Linked DNA regions of Homo sapiens: all the other regions are linked to region 6. The links are contacts of gene promoters, found by promoter capture Hi-C in blood cells and fetal thymus (Javierre and others, 2016). All regions are on one chromosome and are shown on one strand. The core of a region is centred on a gene start or on the middle of the fragment in contact, and the rest is flanking DNA. Distances in the headings are between cores, read along the strand shown. Region 1 overlaps RNF145 (ring finger protein 145). Region 2 overlaps UBLCP1 (ubiquitin like domain containing CTD phosphatase 1). Region 3 overlaps TTC1 (tetratricopeptide repeat domain 1). Region 4 overlaps PWWP2A (PWWP domain containing 2A). Region 5 has its middle 12 kb from the start of TTC1. Region 6 holds the start of NUDCD2 (NudC domain containing 2). Region 7 overlaps RNF145 (ring finger protein 145).

Evidence for each region. Contacts are between HindIII fragments. The CHiCAGO score rates a contact against its expected background, and 5 or more counts as called.
Region 1: a contact is called between a fragment that was not itself captured here and the fragment with the promoter of NUDCD2 in region 6, in 2 of 17 cell types (naive CD8 T cells and total CD8 T cells). The highest score is 9.6, in naive CD8 T cells.
Region 2: a fragment that was not itself captured here is called in contact with the fragment with the promoter of NUDCD2 in region 6 in 1 of 17 cell types (total CD8 T cells); the score reaches 10.6 in total CD8 T cells.
Region 3: a contact is called between a fragment that was not itself captured here and the fragment with the promoter of NUDCD2 in region 6, in 3 of 17 cell types (total CD8 T cells, activated CD4 T cells and naive CD8 T cells). The highest score is 7.0, in total CD8 T cells.
Region 4: a fragment that was not itself captured here is called in contact with the fragment with the promoter of NUDCD2 in region 6 in 2 of 17 cell types (naive CD8 T cells and total CD4 T cells); the score reaches 6.2 in naive CD8 T cells.
Region 5: a contact is called between a fragment that was not itself captured here and the fragment with the promoter of NUDCD2 in region 6, in 2 of 17 cell types (total CD4 T cells and naive CD8 T cells). The highest score is 6.2, in total CD4 T cells.
Region 7: a fragment that was not itself captured here is called in contact with the fragment with the promoter of NUDCD2 in region 6 in 1 of 17 cell types (naive CD8 T cells); the score reaches 6.3 in naive CD8 T cells.

What each region holds. Positions count from the first base shown.
Region 1 is chr5:159,196,843-159,200,759 of GRCh38, reverse strand. The region is part of intron 2 of RNF145 (ring finger protein 145); the gene reads left to right. Among named protein-coding and RNA genes, the nearest start is that of RNF145, 11 kb to the left of the region's middle. The HindIII fragment of the contact is 2,726 bases long and covers 877-3,602 here.
Region 2 is chr5:159,271,820-159,275,329 of GRCh38, reverse strand. UBLCP1 (ubiquitin like domain containing CTD phosphatase 1) reads right to left here. Exons shown (of 11, transcript NM_145049.5): 6 at 3,209-3,307; 7 at 708-745; 8 at 84-182. Among named protein-coding and RNA genes, the nearest start is that of UBLCP1, 10 kb to the right of the region's middle. The HindIII fragment of the contact is 1,332 bases long and covers 787-2,118 here.
Region 3 is chr5:160,017,676-160,021,226 of GRCh38, reverse strand. All of the region lies in intron 2 of TTC1 (tetratricopeptide repeat domain 1), which reads right to left. LOC124901124 (a long non-coding RNA gene) reads right to left here. Exons shown (of 2, transcript XR_007059025.1): 1 at 2,196-3,551. Among named protein-coding and RNA genes, the nearest start is that of TTC1, 10 kb to the right of the region's middle. The HindIII fragment of the contact is 1,261 bases long and covers 669-1,929 here.
Region 4 is chr5:160,094,508-160,098,207 of GRCh38, reverse strand. The region is part of intron 1 of PWWP2A (PWWP domain containing 2A); the gene reads left to right. Among named protein-coding and RNA genes, the nearest start is that of PWWP2A, 23 kb to the left of the region's middle. The HindIII fragment of the contact is 7,889 bases long and covers 1-3,700 here.
Region 5 is chr5:159,995,495-159,998,991 of GRCh38, reverse strand. No RefSeq gene overlaps it. Among named protein-coding and RNA genes, the nearest start is that of TTC1, 12 kb to the left of the region's middle. The HindIII fragment of the contact is 3,133 bases long and covers 30-3,162 here.
Region 6 is chr5:163,457,813-163,461,891 of GRCh38, reverse strand. It overlaps NUDCD2 (NudC domain containing 2), which reads left to right and starts at 1,790. Exons shown (of 4, transcript NM_145266.6): 1 at 1,790-2,030. The coding sequence starts at 1,842. HMMR (hyaluronan mediated motility receptor) reads right to left here and starts at 1,260. Exons shown (of 18, transcript NM_001142556.2): 1 at 1,154-1,260. The coding sequence starts at 1,199. RefSeq lists enhancers at 1,014-1,073, 1,824-2,073 and a silencer at 1,404-1,493. The HindIII fragment of the contact is 3,644 bases long and covers 1-2,519 here.
Region 7 is chr5:159,168,022-159,171,588 of GRCh38, reverse strand. RNF145 (ring finger protein 145) reads left to right here. Exons shown (of 11, transcript NM_001199383.2): 7 at 1,770-1,910; 8 at 2,534-2,716. Among named protein-coding and RNA genes, the nearest start is that of RNF145, 40 kb to the left of the region's middle. The HindIII fragment of the contact is 248 bases long and covers 1,441-1,688 here.

The DNA of each region.
Region 1 (3,917 bases), core at 990-3,489, 4.3 Mb after region 6:
ATTTGGTATACATTAGGGAAATTAATCCTTTGTGATAAGTTGAAAATAGTTTTTCCAGTTTCAACTCAGTGATTTTGCTTATGATTTTTTGACATTTAGAAGGTTTTTAAGCTTTAGTATTTTGAGTCAATTAGAAAAGCCTTCTTTATTCTTGAGTTTATAAAGAATTCTGTTGTATTTTATCTTACTATTTTTGTGGGTTTATTTTTACATTTAAATCTTTGCTTCATTTATCTGTATGAATAGTGTGTTATAGGTATAATTTTATTTTTTCTAGATAACCACACAGTCATCCTCACCTATTTAGTCCATTTTTTTCTCATTATATACTGAATTCTCACATATATTTTGTTTCATTTTTGAACTTCTCTTCCTTTAGTCTGTCTGCCTGTTTGTGAACTATTAACACGCTGTCTTATTTGTTGAGGGTTTAGATTATATTTTACTGTCTAACAGGGTTAGTCCCTTCAGTTTTCTTTATTTCCTCCTCTGAGCTTTTTTTTTATGGTTAGTTTTCTATGTGAATTTAAGAATTGTCTCAAAATTGTCTAGGTCTCATTCCAAAAACAAAGCAACCCATTTGATTTTTTTTAAAATTTAGATTGCATTATTACTAATTTTGGGGGCAGGTGGGGAGGATGGGTTCTTGCTGTGTTGCCCAGGCTGGCCTGGAACTCCTGGGCTCAAGTGATCCTCCTGCCGCAGCCTCCTGACATTTATTGTTTCTAGGTATTTTATCTTTTTTATTGCTATCGTAAGTGGGAGTTTTTCCCCCTTTATGTCTTCTAATTGTAATTAAGGAGCTTAAAAATTAAGGGAGGGAGCAATAAAGTTTGTATTTAATGGAATGTAATTGTGTCTTCAAACTTAGAAGCTTTCCAGGGTGGGTTCTGCTGAAAGAGAAGTGACTGCCCACTGTTTTTTGGAGTGTAGGATATGAAAGGAGGAGTAGAAGTAATATTGGTAAGGTAGAATAGGGCTTTTGTGAAGAATCCTGAATACATACAGTAGATATGGTGCTTAATTCTATAGGTCGTGGTGGGTCAGTGGGGATTTTAGAGCAGGTGAGCTGCATTTTAAGATTGATTAGGCAGCGTTTTATAGGATGATGGATTGGGGAGGGGAGAAACTGGAGGTAAGAAGACCAGTTAGGATTTTAGGCAAGAGGTAATGAGAGCCAGAACTGGCAAGGTAGAAATTAGAAAGGAAGAAATGGATGCGAAAATCCTTTTGAAACTACCATCACTAAAATCATTAGTGACTTAAAATGTAAAATTCAACCCTCATTTATGTCCTAATTCTACAGACTTTTCTATGTTTATGGAGCTGTTTACCACTTCCTCTTTCTTGAAAGTGTTTTTTTTTTTTTTCCTGATTTTTCTCCTAACTCCCTGACCATTGCTTCTGATTCTTTTGATTTGTTTTCTTTAGACTTCTCAAGTGTTGATATTGCCCACAATTTGTGTTTAATTTTAATCTTTTGTTGTTTGGGTGACCGAACGTAGTTTGGGCTGCAGATCTCTGTCTCCACTTTACATTGCTTTTTGACCACTGTAGTCTGGAGTTGATGTTCTTCCTCTGTGATTCCATGGAACCAGTTCACATCTCTACCATAGCAATTATTATGTTGCATTCTAAGGGTCCATATGCTTATCTATTTTCCCAACTGTTAATAGATTGTGAGCTCCTTTAAGGTAAGAAGGGGGTTGTTTATTATCTCAGTATTCCCAGCACCTAGCTGGTGCCCAATAATGAATGAATTTTATATATATGTATGTATGTACGTGACAGGGTCTCACTCTTGCGCAGGTTGGAGTGCAGTGGTGTGATCATGGCTCACTGCAGTCTCAGACTCCTGGGCTCAAGTAACCCTTAGCTGCTGGAGTAGCTGGTACTACAGGCATATACCAAGGTCTTGTTTTGTTACCCAGACTGGTCTCAAACTCCTGGCCTAAAGTGATCCTCCTGCCTCAGCCTCCAAGAGTGCTAGGATTACAGATATTAGCCACTGTGCCCAGCCCTGAATGAATGCATTTTGAATTACTTCTTAGACATTTCCACCTAAATAGCCTATGGACATTTCAATTTGTTGTCAATCACTGAACTCATCACCTTTTTCTCACCTCAGAAGTCTTTCTCCTGCTGTGTTTCCTGTCTTAATAGCAAAGCTGTCTTCTTGATTACCCAAGCTAGAAACATCAGATCTTCACTTCCTTGTTCTCAACTAGTCACCCACAGATAACCACTAAGACCTATTTAAATATGTATCTCATGGCTGACTGGCAGCTCCATACCCAAAGCTACTGTTACAATCCAGGCTCTCATCTTACCTCTGGTCCTGCTGTTTACCCTACAACTACCATAATGTTTAAATAGCAGAAATTATTAGATTCATCAGTGTTGTTTTAAGCAGGTCATCATTTTGATTTATTTTTTATTTTTTCTGTTCTCAGAGTCTGTTCCCGTAGGTCATTATTTCTTTTATTTATTTATTTATTTATTTATTTATTTATTTATTTAGAGATAGAGTCTCACTGTCGCCCAGATTGGAGTGCAGTGGTACAATCTTAGCTCACTGCAGCATCAACCTTCTGGGCTCGTGTGATCCTCCCACCTCAGCCTCCTCAGTAGGTGGGACCACAGTTGTGTGCCACCACACCTGGCTAATTTTTTGTATTTTTTTGTAGAGACAGGAATTTGCCGTGTTACCCAGGCTGGTCTCGAACTCCTAAGCTCAAGTGATCTTCTGCTTTGGCCTCCCAAAGTGCTGGGATTACAGATGTGAGCCAACACATCCAACCCTTATTTTTTATAGAGACAGGGTCATGCTCTGTCACCCAGACTGGCAATCATAACCTCACTGTAACCTTGAATTCTTGGGCTCAAGGGATCCTCCCACCCCAGCCTCCCGAGTAGCTGGGATTATAGGTGTGCACTACTACACCTGGCCTAGGTCATCATTTTTAAATGCCACTGGTCTTGCTTTTTAATTACAAATTACTGTGTATAATTTAAAAACTAACAGCTTTGCCATTGTCAACTTAGTTTGTTATGGATTGTTTGGTTAATGCTGTAGAGTGAGTTGTGATGCATGTTTGTGTCAATAGTATTTTTGGCTTGCATTTTTTAAATTGTTAGATTATATATACATCGTAGTTCAGATGGTTCATTCATACTGCTCTCATAGTTAGTATTCATTGTCTCTCAAAGTTTTCTTACACAAATATTTTGTTATCACAGAGTTACTTTTCCACTGGAATATAAAAATGGGGTATAGATGAGCAATGGTGCTTTTGTTGTTTTGGTTTCTGTTCTCTTACCTCACCTAAATAGATATTGAAGAATTTGAGAACCATTAGCTAAGTCTAAATTCTTGATTATTGTATTTAGGCTTTATATTGAGGCTTTAGCTGCTAGTTCTTTCAGCATCATCTCCCAATCTTTCTGTTAACATCAAAGTCTAGTCTAACGTACAGAATTTACTGTCCCCTGAAAATTACACTTTTATGGTTTTCATGCTTGCTGTTCTCTTTTCCTAGAATGTTTCCTTTTCTTCTTAGCCTGGTAAAGAACCATTCACCTTTAGAGATCCAAGTCAAGCTTAATCACTTAACCATAGCCCTTCCAATGTTCATTTATTATAGCATCAATTTTGTCTAATAATTACTTTTGTCCATGCTTATCTTTTCACTAGATTATTATTCACATTAATTTTGGATCTTCCATGTCTAGGAATGCAAGTGGGTCATACTTTACACATAATAATGTTGATTGAATGACTGGATAATTGAAGGAATGGATGAAATGAATATGTTTGATCTAGAAGATTTGGCCGCTGATTTTATATGCGATATATAGGAGAAAGAAAAGACAAGACCGTTCTGGAAAGGAAAATGACAGTTTCGTTAAAAGAGAGT
Region 2 (3,510 bases), core at 203-2,702, 4.2 Mb after region 6:
TATTTACTCCATAGGTATAAACATAAAAAGTACACTGGAAAATAACCATGGTGTCATTAAATAGAAATAAAATGACTTCTTACGTCTATTAATCCTCTCCTTGGAGTATGTACTGTTATCATAGCAGCACTATCCAACATGAAAGTAATCTTATAATTTGCATTTGTGCTCACTCCCAGCTCCTATAAACACAAATATTTGTGAGGTTAAAACATAGTAGTGTGGAAAATTTCAGATTTTCTGAATATTCTAGCTGCAATTTCTCATAATGCCAACTTTCTACACCACTGGCCACTACATCTTGCTAAACAACTAGGAAGTATTTTAGTTTCACTTAGCCAAGTCAATAAATGGTAAACCAAGGAAAATAGAAATAGATTACTTCCTAATTTACCATTTTAGGAGAATACTGACTCTTTAAGTATTGCACACTAGAGCAAAAGAAGGAAAATAAAGTATTATTGTAAAATGAGGAAGAATGTGGGGGAGGGGACAAGCTTAGTTATACTTTTTCTTAAAAAAGACTTAGGGATTCAGTACAATCCACTTATTAAACACACTTTAAAAACACCTCTACTCCCAATAATGGCATTTATCTATCTACTAAGTGCCCTCCAGTAAGAATAAAATTAATTCAGTTCTAGAACTTTTAACAAGACAAATGCAGTTTGAAAATATTTTTAAATGGATTGCTTTCTAACACTTACTTTCATTTTAGCTTCAATCCACTTCATATTTGTTGCAGCTAAAACACGAGGAATGATAATACAATACATATGAAAAGCTTGAATTTCTTTAAAAAAAATCTGTATAAGTAAGTTTTCTAAGCAAAACTAAAAGTTTAAATGCATCAGAATTAACAGTCCCTAGCATACTTATGGTAATTTTCTTTTAAATATTGATAAAAGTAAACTTACTGCAGTGTGTCTTCAAGACAGAATAAATTTTAAACAACTTTTATCTGTAAGATACAGGTAATCCATGCTCAAAAGAACTCTGAACCTAGGAAATTTATAAATCAAGACCTAAACTCTCTTTTTAAATCAGCCCTGACACTCTATCAATTCCAAACTTAAACTTGGGTGCCTGGATCACTTTTTTCCATGTTCCTACTTCTAGGCAATGCACAGGTATACATAGTGTCAATATAAGCATATTGTTATGTGTCAAAAGTTTATGTTGAAAACCAGCTAGTCAGGTTCAGTGAAAATCTGCATTTTGTCAGTCTCAGCAAATTAAAGCTCACTGAGTCTAGCAGCTTCTAACAAGAAATGAGACAAATTCATGAAGTATACCTGCATCATGTATCTGCTCATTGTCAGACATTAACCAGCTTTGAGATCATTAATACTAAAATTAAATCCTCATCTTTATGTGCTCTCCTGGTTTACTGGACTAAACTATACAGGTATAACCAAGTAAAATGTTTAAAAAGAGAAAAAGCAATTTAATTATTTGAAGTGTGTGTGTGTGTGTGTGTGTGTGTGTGTGTGTGATTTTTAAAAGCAAAAGAGGAACCTGAGTTCTCAAAATAAAAAATCTTCAGCATGCACACATACAAAAAAACAGAAGAATCACCTTACACGTACAAAACTGGTCAGTTGAGCTAAAATTTTAAAGACTATTGTATCTCCAATGAAAATAATCATAAGATAGAAAAAAATTTTAATCCGGTACTTACTTTGTATCTGTAATTATCAGACGAAAAACAAAAAGACCCACAGCTAATAAAAAGTTTCTAATTATTAAGTAACTATATGTCAGACATAGTACTAGTTGCTATATTGATACTTCTATTCTTACAACTAACCTGTAATATGTATTTAGATATCTTCATTTCTCAAGTGAGGGAACTAAGGCTCAGAAAGATTAAGTGACCTGTCCAGTGTCACACAGTAAGAACAGAGCCAGAATTAAAATCCTAGTCTATTTAGCTCCAAAGTGAAGTACTCTTTTCAATGAACTACCACAAAATATCACAGTTTATAAAAATAATTTAAATATACTATTGTAAAAGGTTCTCAAATTTTATAAGTCTAGTTTAATAACATTTAAAGGATAAACTTTTTTCTCAAATATCATCTTAGATGTCAAAGTTGCTAAACAAACCAGCAAGCTTTCTTCACCTTATCTTACTAAACCAGAAAATTATATATTTTGACAATAATTTTAATCTTAACAGCTGTGAACTCACATGGAACTCACATATCACAAACAACGGAAGTACTCTGATTATAAGGAAAAATACAAAATGAATTTACAGACTGCAACAACTAACATAATTTCTCTCAAAGACCTAGTACAATGAAATGTAGCACCTTTACTTGATGGGACTTCATTTAATTCAGTCAGGATAACTCTTCTCTGCTTATGACATTGCCAAGAGGCAACTTTAAATATTTGTGGGGAGGAGGGATGTAAATCAATGCATTGCTTCATTTTCCAAGAAAATCTTGCTACCAAAAAACGTTAATTGAACTGAATAGTGTGCTTACGATTACAGTATATTTACTTCTTGGAACAAACTCAGTATCTTATCACAGACCTGTACATTCTTGAAATGGTCCGCAGACCACAATTTCAATGTCACTGGCTTTAGTCCACATATTAATTTTTCCTTAAGTAATTCAAGTTGCCTTTATTTCCAGAGAACTATATCACTGTGATTTTGTTTTAAACACCTTTTTCCAAGTATTTTAAAACTGGAGTCAGGAAAAAAGGAGAAAAGAAAAATATTCTGAAGCATCAAGAATTTCACAGCAAAGATCAGAAGGAAAGGCTGGGCACATTGGCTTATGCCTGTAATCCAGCACTTTGGGAGGCCAAGGCAGGAGGATCACTTGAGCCCAGGAGTTCAAAACCAGTCTGGGCAACACAGCGAGACCCTAAAGATATGTGCCTAGTTAAAAAAAAAAAAAATCAGAAGGAAAAACTTCAAATCAAGGTGGGGTCATTGGGAAAATTAGTCATTTTTATTCTTACACTATAATGTACTCATGTCCTATAGTTAAATTAACTATCTCACTGGTATTTGGCCAATATATGTTTAAGTTTATATTGTGATACATGCTTCATTTTAGAAATTTGCTAAAAAATGAAAACTATTTCATATTTAAACACAGGTCATTTTAAGTCACATTTTATACAGCACAATAATATATGGAACAACCTATTTCCACGGAAATCTAAACAAAAAAATACAGCTTACACCAAATAACAATGTCATAATCTTCATAGGCAGATGTTAGAAATTCATGAAGATATGGCCGCATTAATTCTACCCCAGTCTCTGCACAAGACCTGTGGTCTAAAAGAAAATTGATCATAAATAATTATTAGTTTACCATCATGAACAAGTACCTAATACCAATTATTATTAAATGTAATATATTACGAAATGCAAACATAAACATTTCATTGCAAACTGCTTCAGACTGAATTACGTTGGCTGACAAAAAGATGTCTTTCAAAACACAATTTAAAATCCTTAAGATCCAATTTTAGTCGATC
Region 3 (3,551 bases), core at 50-2,549, 3.4 Mb after region 6:
GAGGCTTGCTAACAAAACAGATGCCTGGTTGTTGCCTCACAGGTGTGTGGTGTCAGACACTTCTCAGGCTGTGCATGGTTAATACATTTCCTGTGATGCTTAGACACAATAAAGTCTGGAAACCACTGATCTACACAAAGTGACCTTTCTTAATAAACACAGGAAATACTGAACGTCATTTTAACTTTTCTGCCAGCAAATAATGTAAACACACCTCACTAACTTCCAAATGTTTTAGAGCAGCGGTCCCTACCCTTTTTGGCACCAGGGACTGCTCTTGTGGGGAACTATTTTTCCACGGACTAGGGTCTTGGGGAAGGGGGTGTTCATAATGATTCAAGCACATTACATTTATTGTGTACTTTATAATTATTAAACTGTAATATATAATCAAATAGTTATACAATTCACCATAATGTAGAATCAGTGGGAGCCCTAAGCTTGTTTTCCTGCAACTAGACGGTCCTACCTGGGGGTGATGAGAGACAGTGATAGACTATCAGGCATTAGATTCTTGTAAGGAGCAGGCAACACAGATCCCTTGCATGTGCAATTCACAACAGGGTTCACAAGCCTACGAGAATCTAATGCTACCATGGATATGACATGAGGTGGAGCTCAGACAGTAATGCAAGCGATGGGAAGTGGCTGTAAATACAGATGAAGCTTCGCTCACTAGCCTGCTGCTCACTTCCTGCTGTGTGGCTGGGTTCCTTACAGGCCACAGACTGGTATCAGTACATGGCCGGGGGTTGACGACCCCTGTTTTAGAGCAAGCAACCCTTATTTCCACTGGTTTAAACTTAGCATCAGGCCAGGCAGGGTGGTTCATTCCTGTAATCCCAGCACTTTGGGAGGCCAAGTGAAAGGGCCTCTACAAAAATAAAAATAAACAAACTTGGGATCAGAAATCTAAGCTCCTTCTAGGATTTGATTTAATCGTTTGTAGACAGCATTAAGTTCAACAGTGGTAACTCTAAGAAGTTGGTAAAACTGACCACCTTAGTTCCAAAGGATGCCTATTAGAAATGAAAGAAAAGGAGGCTGGGGCGGGCGGATCACTTGAGGTCAGGAGTTCGAGACCAGCCTGGCCAACATGGTGAAACTCCGTCTCTACTAAAAATACAAAAATTAGCTGGGTGTGGTGGTGGGCACCTGTAATCCCAGCTACTTGGGAGGCTGAGGCAGGAGAATCACTTGAACCTGGGAGGCAGAGGTTGCAGTGAACCAAGATCATGCCACTGTACTCCAGTCTGGGCGACAGGGCAAGACTCTGTCTCAAAATAAACAAACAGAAAACAACAACAACAAAAAGAAAACAAGAAATGAAAGAAAAGGGAGGCAGGAGGCAGGGCACAGTGGCTCATGCCTATAATCCCAGAACTTTGGGAGGCCGAGGTGGGTGGATCATGATGTGAGTTCGAGACCAGCCTGGCCAATATGGTGAAACCCAGTCTCTAGTAAAAATACAAAAATTAGCTGGGTGTGGTGGCACACGCCTGTAGCCCCAGCTACTCGGGAGGCAGAGAGAGAATCGCTTGAATCCGGGAGGCGGAGGTTGCAGTGAGCAGAGATCGCACCGCTGCACTCCAGCTTGGGCAACAGAGAGGGAATATCCATCTCAAAAAAAAAAAAAAAAAAAAAAAGAATGAAAGAAAAGGGAAACAACAAAATCAGAAAGGTTGCTCATGACGTTAACAGGACTATGCAGGCCACTATGGAAGAAGTTACTGAGAACTTTTTGGAAGCAATCGAGAGTATTCCCTGCAAACACATCCACAGCCACAACATTAATTAGATTATGAAAATGGTGCAATAGGGTGGCAGAAACATGGAAATCCAAAAGATTAAGTAATGTGGAATTTAGGAAAAATGACAGAGGGAAGAGACTGAAATATAACATCTGTTCTAAACTGAAACTTCTAAGCTTTGATAATGGTTCCTAAAGAGAAAATGACCTTAAAGAATAATCCTTAAAACTTTCAGAGCCTAATGTTTTAAAATCCCAGATACCAGGCATTCTGAATCCATGTTCACCAAGCAACAGACTTTTGGATCCCTTATGTGTACATGTAAATGAATACCATTTGCAAACCACTAGTGAAAGGGAGCAAACCCATTGAAATGACTAAATCTGCATTTTGGCTTACAAATAAAAAATGTTTGTTTGCAGGAAAGAATTAAATCACCAGAACCTGGATAAGTTCAAAGTTCCTTCATCTTCTTCATATTAATAAAGGCCACACCATCCATCCAGTAGCTGAAGACAAGGAATCATTCTAACGTCTCACTCCATCCCGCCAATCGAATCCACTGCAATGTGTGGTCTGCTTTACCTCTGAAATATATCCCAAAATCATACACTTCTCTTCAGATCCACAGTTCAAGCTACTATCATCTTCACTGGGCTACTGCATTAGAGCCTAATTGGGCTCAAATGTTCTATTCATGTCCCTCCTCCATCCTCATACCCCTCCATTCTCTGTATAAGAACTGAATTCTCTTATTAAAATGTAAATAACTTCCGTCTCTCCCTGGCTTAAAATTATCCATCTGTTTCCTTCTGCACTTGGAAAAAACTTCAAGTTCTTTACTACGGCTTAGGAACTATTCCATAATCAGACCCTTGCCTACTATCAGCCCACTCTCTTCCTTAATCATCATGCTTCAGCCATCGGCTCTTCCATTCCTTGAACATGCCAAAACACCAAACTTGTTGTTACTTTAGGGCTTTATTCAACTGCTCTCTTTGTCTGCAATGCTTCCCTCTCAGACGGTCACACATTTGGCTGCTCCCAGTGCCACCCTCCCCTAAGTCTCTGTTGAGAGGCCACCTCTCCAGAGAGGCTTTCCTGACCAGCCAATCTAAAGCAGTCCTCTCCACCTGTCTTAGTCAGGTTGCTATAACAAAATAACAGACTCAGTAATTTATAAATAATAGAAATTTATTTTGCACAGCTCTAGGGGCTGGAAATTCCAAGATCAAGGCACCAGCAGATTTCGCGTCTGGTAAGGGGCTTGTTCTTTGCTTCAATATGGTGCCTTCTTTCTGCATCCTCACTTTGTGGAAGGGGAGTAGAAGGGCCCAACAGGTTCCCTCAAGTCTTTTATTGGTATACTTTATAAGGATACTAATTCTTCTAATCACCTTCTAAAGGCTCCACCTCTTAATACTACACATTGAGGATTAAGTTCAACATGAATTTTGGAGGAAAACATTCAAACCATAGCACCATCCTTCCAACCCAACCCATCCTTCATGTTAACATTTTGTCCTAATTCTCCAATGAGAGAACAGAAACCCTGTCTTGTTCACCACTGTATCCCTCAGGGCCTCAAACAATGTCTAGTGGGTGGAAGAAATGTAAATATTACTTGAATAAATGTGAGAAAAAAATTTCTGTAACTTATAAGGCCAATTATTGGCTCTCATGGGGGAGAAAAAGATGCTATTCATTCAACAGCTATTTAATGAAGGAAGATTGTGCAAAACCTGTGACAGTGGTCCTCAAGCCTCAGCATGTGCATATGAATTACCTAGGAAATTTACA
Region 4 (3,700 bases), core at 175-2,674, 3.4 Mb after region 6:
ATGCTTATGTGGGAACAGCAGAGAATAAAAACAATCCAGTTGCGAAATATTAACATTCTTACTGAACTTCATAAAGATAAACATACCAGATTCCATTACTTGATATAAACAGCTATAAAATAATTGGCTGGGCCATACTTGCATTGAGAGTATAAATTAAAGACATGGGAAGGAGCCTAAATTCTAGCAAAATTGGCTGGTTGCAGTGGCTCACGCCTGTAATCCCAGCACTTTGGGAGGCTGAGGCTGGTGGATCACTTCAGGCCAGAAGTTCAAAACCAGCTTGGCCAACATAATGAAACCCCATCTACTAAAAATACAAAAATTAGCCAGGCGTGATGGCTCGCGTCTGTAATCCTAGCTGCTCAGGTGGCTGAGGCATGAGAATAGCTTGAACCCAGGAGGCGGTGGTTGCAGTGAGCCGAGATTGTGCCACTGCACTCCAGCCTGGGCGACAGTGAGAGTCTGTCTCAAAAAAACAAAACAACCGCCCCCCCCCCCAAAAAAAAAACCTCTAGTAAATTATTAGGTGTTTTTTGTTTTTGTATTTGTTTTATTTATTTTTATGTTATGTTATTTGAGACGGAGTCTCTCTCTGTTGCTAGGCTGGAGTGCAGTGGTGCGATCTCGGCTCACTGCGACTTTCACCTCCCGGGTTCAAGCGATTCTCCTGCCTCAGCCTCCCGAGTAGTTGGGACTACAGGCGCGTGTCACCACACCCAGCTAATTTTTGTATTTTTAGTAGAGACGGGGTTTCACCATGTTGGCCAGGCTGGTCTTGAACTCCTGACCTCAGGCCTCCCAAAGTGTTGGGATTACAGGCGTGAGCCACTGTGCCTGGCCTTTTTTTTTTTTTTTTTTTTTTTTTTTTGAGACAAAGGCTTACTCACTTGCTCAGGCTGGAGTGCGATAGCGCGAACATGGCTCACTGAAGCCTTGACCTCCCAGACTCAAGCAATCCTCCCACCTCAGCCTCCCAAGTAGCTGGGATCACAGGTACATACCCCCACACCAGGCTAATTTTTCCTATTTGTAGAAACACGGAGTCTTCCTATGTTGCCCAGGCTGGTCTCAAACTCCTGGGCTCAAGCAATTTGCCCACCTCACCCTCCCAAAGTGTTAGGATTGCAGACGTGAGCCACTGCATCAGGCTGTAAGTTACTAGTTTGAAAATAAGATTAAATCACTTACATGAAGCAAATTAAATAAAGTAAATATTAACCAAGGAAAATGGCTGCCGCGTATTCACCTATTGATCTTTATCTGAATCCTTTTAAGGTCAGAAATAGTGTTTCATTTTACACATGCAAAAATGAGTTTAGAGGATACAAACAGTTGATAAAAGACAGCTGTGAAACTTCACCTCAAACATTAAGATAAGTATGGTTTAGTTAGTCCTAATAAAAGGAAGGGAGCCAGGCATGGTGGCAGGTGCCTGTAGTCCCAACTACTTGGGAGGCTGAGATGAGAGGATTGCTTGAGTTCAGGAGGTTGATGCTGCAGCAATCCATGATTGCACCACTGCGTTCCAGCTTGAGTGACAGAGTGAGGCACCGTCTCTATAAAAAAATTTTATAAATCAGTAAGAGGAAGGGCACTTCTCTTCATTCAGGTATTGAAACGTGAACATGTGATGGGGGCAAAATTATGCCTTCTTACAAGTTAGAAAATGTTATTGTTAATGCAAGTAGTGATATCACATCAAATAAGTCACATTGTTTATGTTGGTTCTGCATTAAAACACAAGAAGCACCTCTTTTGTCCTGTCATCTTTTGAAAAAGTGGTTAATGAGCACCTATGTACTGTGTAAGAAAGGGTTAAATGCTTAAAGTTACTTTGAGTTAAGTAGTCAGGAAGCAAACACTTGGTTACCAGAAGTTAGAATGGAGAAAGCAACTTTCTGTGCAGTCTGATACAATAGGAGGTACCTTTCCTTTTTGGACTATCCGAGACCTAATCTTGTCTTACCGTAGGTAAAAAAAAAGCCTTTCCTTTTTATGTTTTGTAAGTATTTGCTGTAAGTTGTTGGTTTGTGGTAGCCAGACTAACAAAGAATTTTGGGAAAAAAGTATTCAGGTGCTAGAATAATACCTGGTGTATGCTGGCTCTTTGTAAATCCTGCCCACGTTTAGGTTTGTCCACAGCTGTTAGTACCTAATATCAAGATTTCTTCCTAGCAAAGGTATTCTGAACCTTTTTGGGAGCATAAGAACATTTCTGGCTGGACACGGTGGCTCACGTCTGTAATCCCAGCACTTTGGGAGGCTGAGGTGGGCAGACTGCTTGAGCTCAGGCATTCGCCTGGACAACATGGTGAAACCCTGTCTCTACAAAAAATACTAAAATTAGCCAGGCATGGTGACGTGTGTCTGTGGTCCCAGCTACTTGGGAGGCTGAGACGGGAGGATTGCTTGAGCCTAGGAGGTCGAGGCTGCAGTGAGCTGTGATGGTACCACTTGCACTGCAGCCTGGATGACAGAGTGAGATCTTGTCTTTAAAAAAAAAAAAAAAAAAAAAAAAGAACATTTCGGAGAATCTGAGCACTGAAGATTTGTAGTGTAGAAAATATAGACATATATAAAACACTGGCATCTAGTTTTGAAGGTTCCACGTGACTGACTACCTGAAGCCAATCTTTGGGTTTAGATCTAAGCCCCTTTGCCTTACAGGATTGGCATTACAGTTGTATTGTGTTAGATATTGTTGGAATCAAATAGTGCATATAGTCAACATGCTAACCTATATGCTGAAATTATTTGGTAGTGTGATTTGATTTTATGTGAAGAAAACTTAGTATAGCAAGTTTATTTTAAGGATCAGGTTCTTGATATTCAGCCCAGGCACGTTAAGCCACTGTTATTTCTAACTCTATTTATGAAATAAGGTTATTAGAAACTGAGAATTTTAAAGATTCGTATTAGATACCATGGTTTGCAAACAGAGTCTGGACCCGTAATGGAGTTTTCAAATCAGTTTAATGGGTCTGACTAGCCTTAAAGCAAATGAAGTAGGCCAGAGTAGAAAAGAAATTATGTATCACAAAATACAAGGTTAAGTACTTGGTGAAACTTTTGCTTAAGTGTGTGTATTTATGTATATATGGATGCATGTATACATTCATAAGTAGTCTTTTTTTTTTTTTTTTTTTTTTTTTTTTTTGAGACAGAGTCTTGCTCTGTTGCCCAGGCTGGAGTGCAGTGGTGTGATCTCAGCTCACTGCAAGCTCTGCCTCTTGGGTTCACGCCATTCTCCTGCCTCAGCCTCCCGAGTAGCTGGGACTACTGGCGCCTGCCACCATGCCCGGCGAATCTTTTTGTATTTTTAGTAGAGACGGGGTTTCACCGTGTTCGCCAGGATGGTCTCGATCTCCTGACCTCGTGATCTGCCCACCTCGGCCTCCCAAAGTGCTGGGATTACAGACATGAGCCACTGCACCCGGCCCATTCCTAAGTGTTTTTATTGGATTGCAATGCAAATATATTTCTTAATGTGAGATGATTTAAAAAGAAAGCCACAGCTCTGTAACTGTTTGCTTTGGAAGTAGTTTGAGTATCTGAGTTCTTGATATTTTTGTGTTTTGGGAGACAGAATAGGTAACTAGTTAGGATGCAAGAGTAAAAGAGCAACTTTCTTTGAATCTTCAGTGATTAACCAATAAAGTTGAGATGGGATTTTACTCATTAAGTAGTTTTGGATAGT
Region 5 (3,497 bases), core at 347-2,846, 3.5 Mb after region 6:
CTTAAAATCACAGTACATTGACTCAAGCTTTTCAAAGAGCCTAAGATAATTGGAGCTACAAGACCCATTGGCGAAATCTCATTTTATCTTCTATTTTCGTAAGTAGTTCCATCCAAGTGCACTTAAGATGCAGTTCCCCCTTTATTATTGAATTTTATATGAATTCAGCCCTAAACTGGCACTAAAAAGATAATATATGGTTGTAGCAGGACACTTACATGGAAGTGACAGAAAAACATCAGCGTCTCTGGGAAATAGGTCTCAAGTTGAAGAATATAGTAAGACTCAACATTCACTCAGCACTACAGAAGCCGATCCTGTGTAATTGAAAATGCGTAAGCTCTGCATTCGTGTGTGCTTACATGAAGATTACTTTGGTTCCCCTAACAGCTCTGAGCTAGACAAAGCAAGTATTACTTCCATTTTACCGAAGAGAAACTGAGGAAATTGAGAGCTGAAAGGACTTGATCAGGAAGACCACGATAGCTTATGACAGAGTTATATTTATAGCCGGAGGGACAAAGAGATCTCTGTCCAGTTCTTCATCTCATTTGTTCTATGAACTCCTTTGGTGGGCTGCTGAAGCCTCTGGATCGCTTCTCAGAGAAATTTTTTTAAATGCATAAAACAAAATATACTGGAATATGAAGGAAATAAATTATATTGAAATACAGTTCCTATAATACTAACAATAAAATTAGCAAGATATATATATCTACGTATCTACATATTCTGTTTGTCTACACACACACTCCTTTTTATTAACACATTAAGTATAGCAGGTGTAATAACTACCACAATTTTGAAGTAGTGATGAGTATATTCAATATTTCAAGTCATCTGAAACAACTGTAATATGCTATGAAATATCTGATATTCTTTTGGTGATAAAGTCAAAAGCTCTGCTAATATTACTATGTTCTATTGGCTAAGTTCATAAAAGAAGGAAAAACTAAATTTCAGTTAAAAGTTAGAGGCCAGGCGCGGTGGCTTACGCCTGTAATCCTAGCACTTTGGGAGGCCGAGGCAGGAGGATCACCTGAGGTCGGGAGTTTGAGGCCAGCCCGGCCAACATGGTGAAACCCCATCTCTACTGAAAATACAAAAATTAGCCAGGCGGGGTGGTGGTCATCTGTAATCCTGGCTACTTGGGAGGCTGAGGCAGGAGAATTGCTTAAAACTGGGAGGCAGAGGTTGCAGTGAGCCGAGATTGGGCCACTGCACTCCAGCCTGGGTGACAGTGCAAGACTCTGTCTCAAAAAAAAAAAAAAGTTAGTGAAGATAAGAATGTAATTTTCCCCCTATCTAAAGTCATGACCCTTCCCTCTAAATTTTATCCATTGTCCCTTTAGGGGTTTGTAGATCTCAAGTTAGGAACTCCTTATCTAGTCCAATCCCTCATAAAGCAGATGAACAAATGAGGTCCAGAGAGGGAATGTGATTTATCTAAGACATTTTAGCCACATAGCAGGGAATAAACTAGAACCCAGAGGTTGGTAATTCCTTCTCTATAAGGCTGTTATGAGGAATAAATGTAACAATATATGTAAAATCTTAGCACAGTACCAGTGACACAATAGGCATTTGTAGAAAACTGGCCACACAACACAGTAGAAGCAGAGAGATGAGACTTTCTGGAAATCTCTGTAACAGAGGGCAAACTCAGCTGTATGTGTCTTTTTGTTTGTTTTTATTTGATTTCAAAAATTCTTTTTGCCACACTGGAGGAGAATGTTTGTTTGTTTGTTTTTAGACAGTCTCACTTTGTCACCCAGGCTGGATTGCAGTGGCACGATCTTGGCTCACTGCAACCTCCGCCTCCTGGGTTCAAGCGATTCTCCTGCCTCAGCCTCCCAAGTAGCTGGGATTACAGGCACCCGTTACCATGCCCGGCTGATTTTTGTATTTTTCGTAGAGACAGGGTTTCACCATGTTGCCAGGCTGGTCTCGAACTTCTGACCTCAGGTGATCCACTGGCCTCAGCCTCCCAAAGTGCTGGGATTACAGGCATGAGCCACCACACCTGGCCAGTTTGTTTGTTTTTATAGACAGAGTCCCACTCTGTTGCCCAGCCTGCAGTGCAGTGGTGCAATCATAGTTCACAGCAACCTGCAGCTCCTGGGCTCAAGTGATCCTCTTGCCTCAGTCTCCTGAGTAGCTGGGACTATAGGGGCGTACCACCATGCCTGGATAATTTTTTGTTTTTAAATTTCTTTGTAGAGGGGATCTTGCTATGCAGTCCAGGCTGGTCTCAAACTCCTGGGCTCAAGCAACCCTCCCACCTTGGTCTCCTGAGTGGCTGGGATTGCAGGTATAAGCCACCACACCTGGCCCTGTATGTGCCTTTTGTCTTTGCCATATTTCTTCCTGCCTGGAAGAGGGACATTATGGCCACATTTTAAGGACAGAGTAGGGAAACACTAGAAGGGCCATGGGCCTCTCCTGACAGTGTGGATTTGCCATACTATCCCCACTGTCCCCAGACTGCCTACTTCCAGACTTCTCATATGAGAGAAAAAATAAACAAACAGCCCTTTTTGATTTGTTCAAGCCACTGTTATGTGTGTTCTGTTATGTGCAGCCAAACTCACTCCCCTAACTGATACACAGCTCTTCCTGGCTGGGTGACTTACTCTCTCTGAGCCCTAAGTCCTTCATTTAAGGTTTTTTGGTGAGGATTAGAAGATACAGAGGACTTAGGCAGTGCCTGGCACAGCAAAAAGCAGCTATTATTATTATTACTGTTTCAGTGGATTGCAGTTCAGTGCTCTTTCTACCAAATTGACTCACAGCTTAAAAATCACTCACACAGACTCAAAATCCCATTAAGCCCTCCCCAACCCCAGCCCGCTTTCTCCAGCTGCAGCTTTGGTCCACTGCCTCAAAGTCAGCCTGAGGAAATACTTACCATGTCCCAGGGAGAGGAACAGTTTATGAAAATGCTGACACAGACGAAACACCTAATAATTAGTGGCTAACAACCACAGACATGGAGGCAATTAAGAGGGTTGTGTAAATTGAGGGGACTAAAGCAACTTCTCTTTTATTCCTCAAATGTTTTGCCTAAGCCTCCGAGATATTTCTTCTGCCAGCAGTGCTGACTTTACAGGAAGAAAGTGGGATGAGAAGTGGTGGAGAGTTTGTAGGAGCTGTGAAGAAGCTTTGGACTCCAGATGCCTTCCCTGTTCCAGTGACCACTCTGCTAGGCTTTCTTCCATATGAGCTGGGGCCATGTGGGTCGTGCGGGGCATGCGTGAGCCCGTAGGACTTACAAGGGTTCAAGGGGCAAGGATGGCCTGTGGTTCCCGAAGGCACACTTGGCCTACAGTTCTGTCGAAGGATGGTGCCATTTATCTACCTGGCTCTTTTGTTTTCTTTGACACTACTTCCTTAGCACTGATGGTTAGGGACCACCGAAGATGTTAATGCCTGCCAAAGTGGCTTCCTTAGATGTCGGGCTTAGAAGTGAGGCACATGTCTTTCTCTACTGGGGGCTG
Region 6 (4,079 bases), core at 541-3,040:
TCATCTGTAAAATGAGGTCAATATCAGTACCTTCCTCACTTGGCTTTTGGAAGGAATAAACAAGATCTAGTAGCACAGTCCCAGCATACAGCATTTTTTTTTTTTCTGTAAGACAGAGTCTTGCTCTGTCGCCCAGGCTGGAGTGCAGTGGCGCGATCTCGGCTCATCGCAAGCTCCGCCTCCCGGGTTCACGCCATTCTCCTGCCTCAGCCTGTAGTCAGCTGGGACTACAGGCGCCCGCCACCGCGCCTGGCTAATTTTTTTTGTATTTTTAGTACAGACGGGGTTTCACGGTGGTCTCGATCTCCTGACCTCGTGATCCACCTGCCTCGGCCTCCCAAAGTGCTGGGATTACAGGCGTGAGCCGCCGCGCCCGGCCGCATACAGCATCTTAAATGATGAGTGCCTACCAAACACAGCTAAGGCTTCCTGGTTACTGTGCTGTGCATTGCGGTGTTAAGAGCACACGATGGGGGCTGGGTTCATATTCCAGTCCGGTCACTTTGGTAATGTAGCACTGAGCAAATTTAAGTCTCAGTCTTTTTATCAATAAAATAATAATAGGATTACCCCTTAGAGTTGGTGGGAAATTAACATAACTAATAATCGATGTAAAGCCTTAGTACGGTGCTTGAGGTATAAGTGGTCAATATCAGCCATAACTTCATTGTTTATGTTTTCAATAAGTGCTGCTGCTCTAATTTTACACCCATAAACTGCCTTTACTAATCTTCCTTCTTTTATGCCCAAATGGAATACACAAAAGAAATGCACAAGTTCAGACTACAAGTAATACTCCAGTGTTCTTATCAGTGAGGCCCTCTCGGACTTGAAAATCAAGTAGCTACCAACGTCTCGGGTCCATTCCCTTCGCCCTGCTGTAGTTTCTCCATTACCGCTGTTTATTGACAGTATTCCCCGCCTGAATGTAAGCCCCACGGGGCGGAGACTGTTTCACTGCGGTATCCTTAGCATCCTGATTAGTGCTTGGCATGTAACAGATGCTTAGAGCATATTTGAGAAAAATCAATCAACTGAATGAGCCCCAGCCCGACCCTAAAATCGCCTCCTGCTTGCCTCCCAAGAAGGGAGCTGAAAGAGGCAAAGGGCGTTAGGGCGTCTCCCGTCCCCCAGCTCTTTCCCCCTTACGCACCAGAAGGGTCATTGAATCGTTTCAAGGGCGCCTTAGGAAAGGACATGTTGACGGCCAGCTCCAGAAACTGAAGGTGACTGGCACTCCTCGACAACTGAATGCGGATTATCACTCCCTACCGGTTTCAAATTCAAATCTCCCCACATTCCCCACCCACCCCGGCGTTAGCCAATTGGAAAGCCAAACCCCTGGGCACACCAATCCCGCACAGGAACACGAAGAAAGAATGCTGGGTTCTGATTGCGTCCAATTAGCTGGCCTGCGAGTTTAGGCTGCCATCCAATAGGAGACCGTTACTGTTCCCCGCCCCACCCACCCAGTCATTCCCGGAGTTACTCAAGTGTAACCTAGCATTTGCGCAAGCGCACTTCCCTCCGGAGACGTTAGAAAGTGCATTTTGGCGTCACTTAGGGGACGGTGTAGTGAGTTCCGGCTTCACTGGTTCCAATTCTGTCCCATTGTTCGTTGCATGTGAACTTTTCTGGATTTCAGTTCTTTCATCCGGGGCCTGCCGGTGCCGTAAACGGCCATTCAAAGGGAAAAACGAACACGCACACCAAAGCGCTAGCTTGCGTTCCTGCGCATGCGCAGTGACCCGAGCGGAGAGGCCGAGGCGTAGCCTAAGCGTGGGATTCCGCGCGTGCGCTCGGCTCCGCCTGGTGCGGCCGCGGCCGGGAGGGACTGGATTATGTCGGCCCCGTTTGAGGAGCGGAGTGGGGTGGTACCGTGCGGGACCCCGTGGGGCCAGTGGTACCAGACCTTGGAGGAGGTGTTCATTGAAGTTCAGGTGCCGCCAGGCACGCGCGCCCAGGATATCCAGTGCGGCCTCCAGAGCCGGCATGTGGCGCTGTCGGTGGGCGGCCGCGAGATCCTCAAGGTAGCGGCAGCTCGGGGCTTGTGTTCAGTTTCCTCTTCCCAGACGCCCCCAGCCCCGTTTCCCTGAACGACTGTTGGGTGTCCCGACGGCTCCTGTGGCTGGCAGAAAGAGAAAGAGGATAACACTGACCAGGTTTGGGTCTGGTCAGAGCCCCCGCCTCTTCAGGGCAGGTGCTGAGTTGTGGAAATTTGAGGAGCCTATTTTCGTGTTTAGTTTTCAAACTAAGACTGCTGCTTCTGCTTCTCTGACGGGCTTCAGCTGGGAACAGATTAACTAGGTTGCTAAAGGAACAAATATTTCTTCCGTGCACTGAAGACAGGCAGGAAGACAACAGATAACGTACCTGCAGTGGAGAGGTTAAGCTCCTGTACGGAAGCGTAATTCATAAATAGATAAATATAGGAAAGGACAACAAAGAAAATAGGGATAGAATAACGGGCAGAGAATTTAGAGATGATGTCAGGTGATTAGTTTTCTCATCTAAAAGCTTGAAAATCCTGCATGTTTGTGGAGTGGTCAAGCAGGTGGTGAAGAGGTGTGTGCATAAAATAAGTAGTACTCCTTTTATTTCTTTTCACCAATGCTCTTTGGATCTGGACCCGCTTTTTCTTTGTTAAGTGTATAATTAAACTAACAGGTTGAAATTAGATTTAGTTCTCAGGTTAGATGCCCAAGATGTTTGATGGCAGTGTAATATGGTGAAGGGAGACTACTTGTTTCCTAGTTTTGTAAACTTGGGCGAGAGATTGTTCAGTGTCTCTATATCTTCCTTATCCACAAGATAAGGTAGTTATAGTACCCTTCTCATGGGATTGTTTTGAGCTTAACATGGTATTCACGTGTATGAAGAGCTTGGAGTATTCACTGGTATGTAATAAGTTCATACTATATGTTAGCTATTAGCTATTATATATATTACAGTATATGGAGGTGCTTTGAGTGCCTCAAGATTCGTGTGAAAGACATTATGTCAGCTTGGATCTCAGTTACTTTTCTGAATTGTACAATTCATAGTTTCCTCAACAATGGTTTTAGATTACGATTATAAATTAGTAAATCCAGTAACTTTCGGAATTTAGCAGTAGCTGCTGAATTTGGGATTTCTGATGTACGTATAGACCAGTGGGATTTTTTTCTCACTAATTTTGACATATTTTAAAATGTGGGCTTTTCCTAGTGACATTTAATTTCACTTTCTATAACTTAAATTTGGCAACAAATTAAAATGGATTTGAGTTTAGGCATTCTCTCTTTAAAAAAAAATATATATTTATTGAGACAGGGTCCCTGTCTCCCATGCTGGGGTGCAGGGGTGAGATTGTAGCTCACAGCAGCCTCAAACCCATGGGGTCAAGCAATCCACGTTGGCCTCCAAAGTCCTGGGATTACAGGCCTGAGCTACTGGGCCTGGTGCAGTCTCTTTTAAATTTATATTTTGTTTATTTTTTTAAAAAACATGAGTTTGTGAACAGTTAGTCACAACTAATCTATCAAATCTGGAATACGTAAAGTTTTTTTAATGCCGATTGCCCAACAAAAAGATTAAAACGTTTTTAAAAGTTTACTTTAAAAACAACATTTTGCCGGGTGCGGTAGCTCATGCCTGTAATCCTGGCACTTTGGAAGGCCTAGGCGGGCGGATCACAAGGTCAGGAGTTCGAGACCAGCCTGGCTAACACGGGGAAACCCCATCTCTACTAAAAATACAAAAATTAGCCGGGCGTGGTGGCGGGCGCCTGTAGTCCTAGCTACTTGGGAGGTTGAGGCAGGAGAATCGCTTGAACCCTGGAGGTGGAGGTTGCAGTGAGCCAGATCGTGCCACTGCAGCCTGGGCGACAGAGCGAAACTCTGTCTCAAAAAAAAAAAAAAAAAAAAAAAAAAAGACAACATTTTTTAGTTTTAGCAGGAGATCCCTTCTTGTGGTTAATTTAAATTGGTAGAATTAAAGCATTTCAGATATTAATTTCACATTTGGCCAGTGGTCAGTATTACTGTATCTTCTAAAAATTAAGGAGCCCTGATCTTTCTTTAGAGAGCTCTGTGTTCTTT
Region 7 (3,567 bases), core at 315-2,814, 4.3 Mb after region 6:
GAAGAGAGAGCAAAGAAAAACTTTATAAATTTTCCAAACTCTTTCACTTCCCCAAAGCTAGGTCGAAATCTTTGGTATTTAGTATGCTCTGTTTTGAAAAATAGCACCACATTTTTTTTTCTAAAATAAGAGAAAAGGAAAGTGCTCTGTTTGAATACGTAATTAAATCATATTGTGTGGGTGTAAAAAATGTTTCTAAATATGGAGAAAGGTCCGTAAAAATAGAGAAATAGTATGGACCTTTGGTTAAATTTTCAGCCTTTTTCAATAAGAATGAAGTAAAATTTTAGTTGGTTTTCAGCCATGATTCTCATGTTGTAAAATTGTACACAATTTGTTTAAAATTGTTACTAATGATTTCAGTGTGAAAATGCCAAACATTTCAGAAATTAAATTTGTAGGAATGTCATAAAATTAATTATTTTTTTCTAGTTATTAGCCACCATGATTGGTGGATATTTTGGCTCCTAACAGAAAACCAGACTTTTTTTCTCATCATAGTGTACATTGGTACCATGTAAAATTAGATGCTTTCACATAAAAACCAACTAATAAGCAATTGTGTAGGAAAGATAACTATATAGAAGCATGGAGCTGCATAGTAAGGGACAAGCATTGATTGCCTGAATGAATTCCTCATCTATATCAGTGAAATTCTTCTTTGAAAATTAAAGCTTAAGATGTAGATACTATATAAGGGCTGGGAGCATTAGCTCAAGCCTGTAATCCCAATACGTTGGGAGGCCGAGGTGGGAGGATCGCTTGAGGCAGAAAGTTTTAGCCCAGTTTGGGCAACATAGCAAGACCTTGTCTGTATAAAGAATAAATTAGCCAGGCGCAGTGGCACGCTCTTACGGTCTTAGCTACTTGGGAGGCTGAAGTGAGAGGATTGCTTTTGCCCTGAAGTTCAAGGCTGCAGTGAGTTATGATTGTACCAGTGCTCTTCAGCCTAGCAACAGAGCAAGACCCTGTCTCAAATAAATATACGTATATATAAGATAGATATTGTGTAAATGCTAAATCTATCTCAGTACATAATAGTACATGTATTTATAAAATACATATAAGTTAATATCTAAGAAGTTCAATGAAAATATTTCCAAGTTCTAGTGTAATGTCTTCCAGTTATCCTTATGAATAGTATCATAGCAAACTTTTGTTAAAAATTAATATTAAAATTACTTTTCAATAGTCTTGGAGCAAATTATTGGGCATGCTTTTGAAGTAACCCTTTTTTAAAAAATGCCTTTGTCTCAACCTAAATTTAAAAATAGCAGTAGTATGTAAGATACTGATGGAGTAGGAGGAGTGATACACCCTGCTCCATAGCAGTTTGGTCAAATAAGGAGTTGCAGCAAGTATTCATATTATAATGTAGCACAGTGAACAATTTGAACAGCCATCATTTTTCAGGAAGAAGAGTGGGCAACTGTACAAGCTTCTTTTGAATACTTGTCAGCATGCTAATTATATATTTCTTAAGATGTGAACATTTAGGCTCTTTGAATTTTACTGTATTTGAAGACCTTGTTTCAGATCTGGTGCTATGTACTGCATATTTGCCAATGAGATAGAAAAATGTGGGTTTGAAGGTGAATAAGATGGTTAAATTATTAATGGAGTAATTGGGTGATTTCTCCTCAAATTTTGGTTTAGGATGTTTTAATTAATGAGTATCAAATCAAGCTTGGTGATTATTTAAAGGCCTCAAATGTGTTTACTCCAAATGGAAAGTTTATGTCTGTTAATTTCCCCCTCTTTTTTTCCAGTATTGCGGAATGCTGCAGCACTCCTTACTCTCTTTTGGGTTTGGTCTTCACGGTTTCTTTTGTTGCCTTGGGTGTTCTCACACTCTGCAAGTTTTACTTGCAGGGTTATCGAGCTTTCATGAATGATCCTGCCATGAATCGGTAAGTTCTTTCCTTGATTATATCTAGAAATGTAAATACTATAGATAACTTGAGGAAGTAATGATGAATTTCTTTGGCTGATGAATTTTAGAAGAAATGGAATTGGAGAGGTTTTTTTTGAATGGTTGCAACATTTGGGTTAAAATACTATGAAAAAATACATTTCCATGTTAAAGATGTATTTGTATTGTATGTATTAATACATTATGATGAATATTGGGCACCTTCCTTCCCTAGATTTCTTTAAGAGATTTTCAGAAGCGTGCTTTTTCCCATTTGAAGTTTAGCCCTGTTAAAATCTGATTTCTATACAGTATTTGATGTTAATATCTGGCTCATTTACAGAATCTGGTTGGAAAACTTCTATTTGTCTTAGAAGTTATTATTTTTGCCCTCATTGTGTGGTAAAGTAATAGCTATTATGCCTTTGCACATGTAGTGATATATATGACTATTTCATTAATGTTACAAAGTTAATATACTGATCAGGTTTTTAGTCTGGATTAAGTCAGAATAGATTTAAAAATATGTAACAAGAGTCTAAGCCTTTGGATTATTTTTCTCTTTGAATTAAATGAGATTCAGATTATTTTATGTTTTCTGAAAATGTATGCTTTTTTTAGGGGCATGACAGAAGGAGTAACGCTGTTAATCCTGGCAGTGCAGACTGGGCTGATAGAACTGCAGGTTGTTCATCGGGCATTCTTGCTCAGTATTATCCTTTTCATTGTCGTAGCTTCTATCCTACAGTCTATGTTAGAAATTGCAGATCCTATTGTTTTGGCACTGGGAGCATCTAGAGACAAGTAAGAAACCTCTTAATATTCTTTAAATTAACTCATGTAATATTCTTTACATGCATTTGTTGTCTAAATATTTAGGGAATATTTAGAGACAGAAAATGGATATGGGTAATTGGTATTAGCTTAGGTTAATTCAACAAGTTTATGTTTTTATTTTTCCTATATGAGATGTCTGACTTACTTGACTTTTGTTTTTTTCTCTCAAGATTTTTTAGTTAAAAATGACATCAAAGGCCATGTAATTATAAGTTAACTTTTTCTGCTTCAGATGAAGTTAATACTTTTTATATTTGTCCAATTTTAAAATTAAGAACATAGAGCATAAAATTTAGTCTAGCATAATAAATGTAACAAATAATATTTAATTTTATTCTGTGTAAATTAATTAAAGGAGAGAAAGCATTAAGTGAAATGCAAATGAAGGAGAGGAAAATAGAGGCTATCAGGTAATCATAAAATAGACATTTATGGAAAAACAGCCTCATTTGATGGAGTTTTAGACAATTTCAACTGACTGGATTATAAGGATTCTTGACAACTTATAGGACCAAATGAAATTAATAGTTGGATTCATGTACATCTTGCATTACAGTAAAATTTTAAACTCTCTATATTTTATTGATACATAGTAGTAGTATATATTTTTGAGGTTCGTGTGATATTTTGAGAGCTGTATACATTGTATAATGATTAAATCAGGATAATTGAGGTATCCAGAAATTTTTGTGAGGGATAAAAGCCAAACTATTATTTAGTTCCTTAAAGATACAGTCTTTTTATTGTAGTTGATACAAGGAAATTCTGTAAGGAATTTCTTAAAATTCGATGTCACTGTTTTTTTTCTAGTTCTCTAT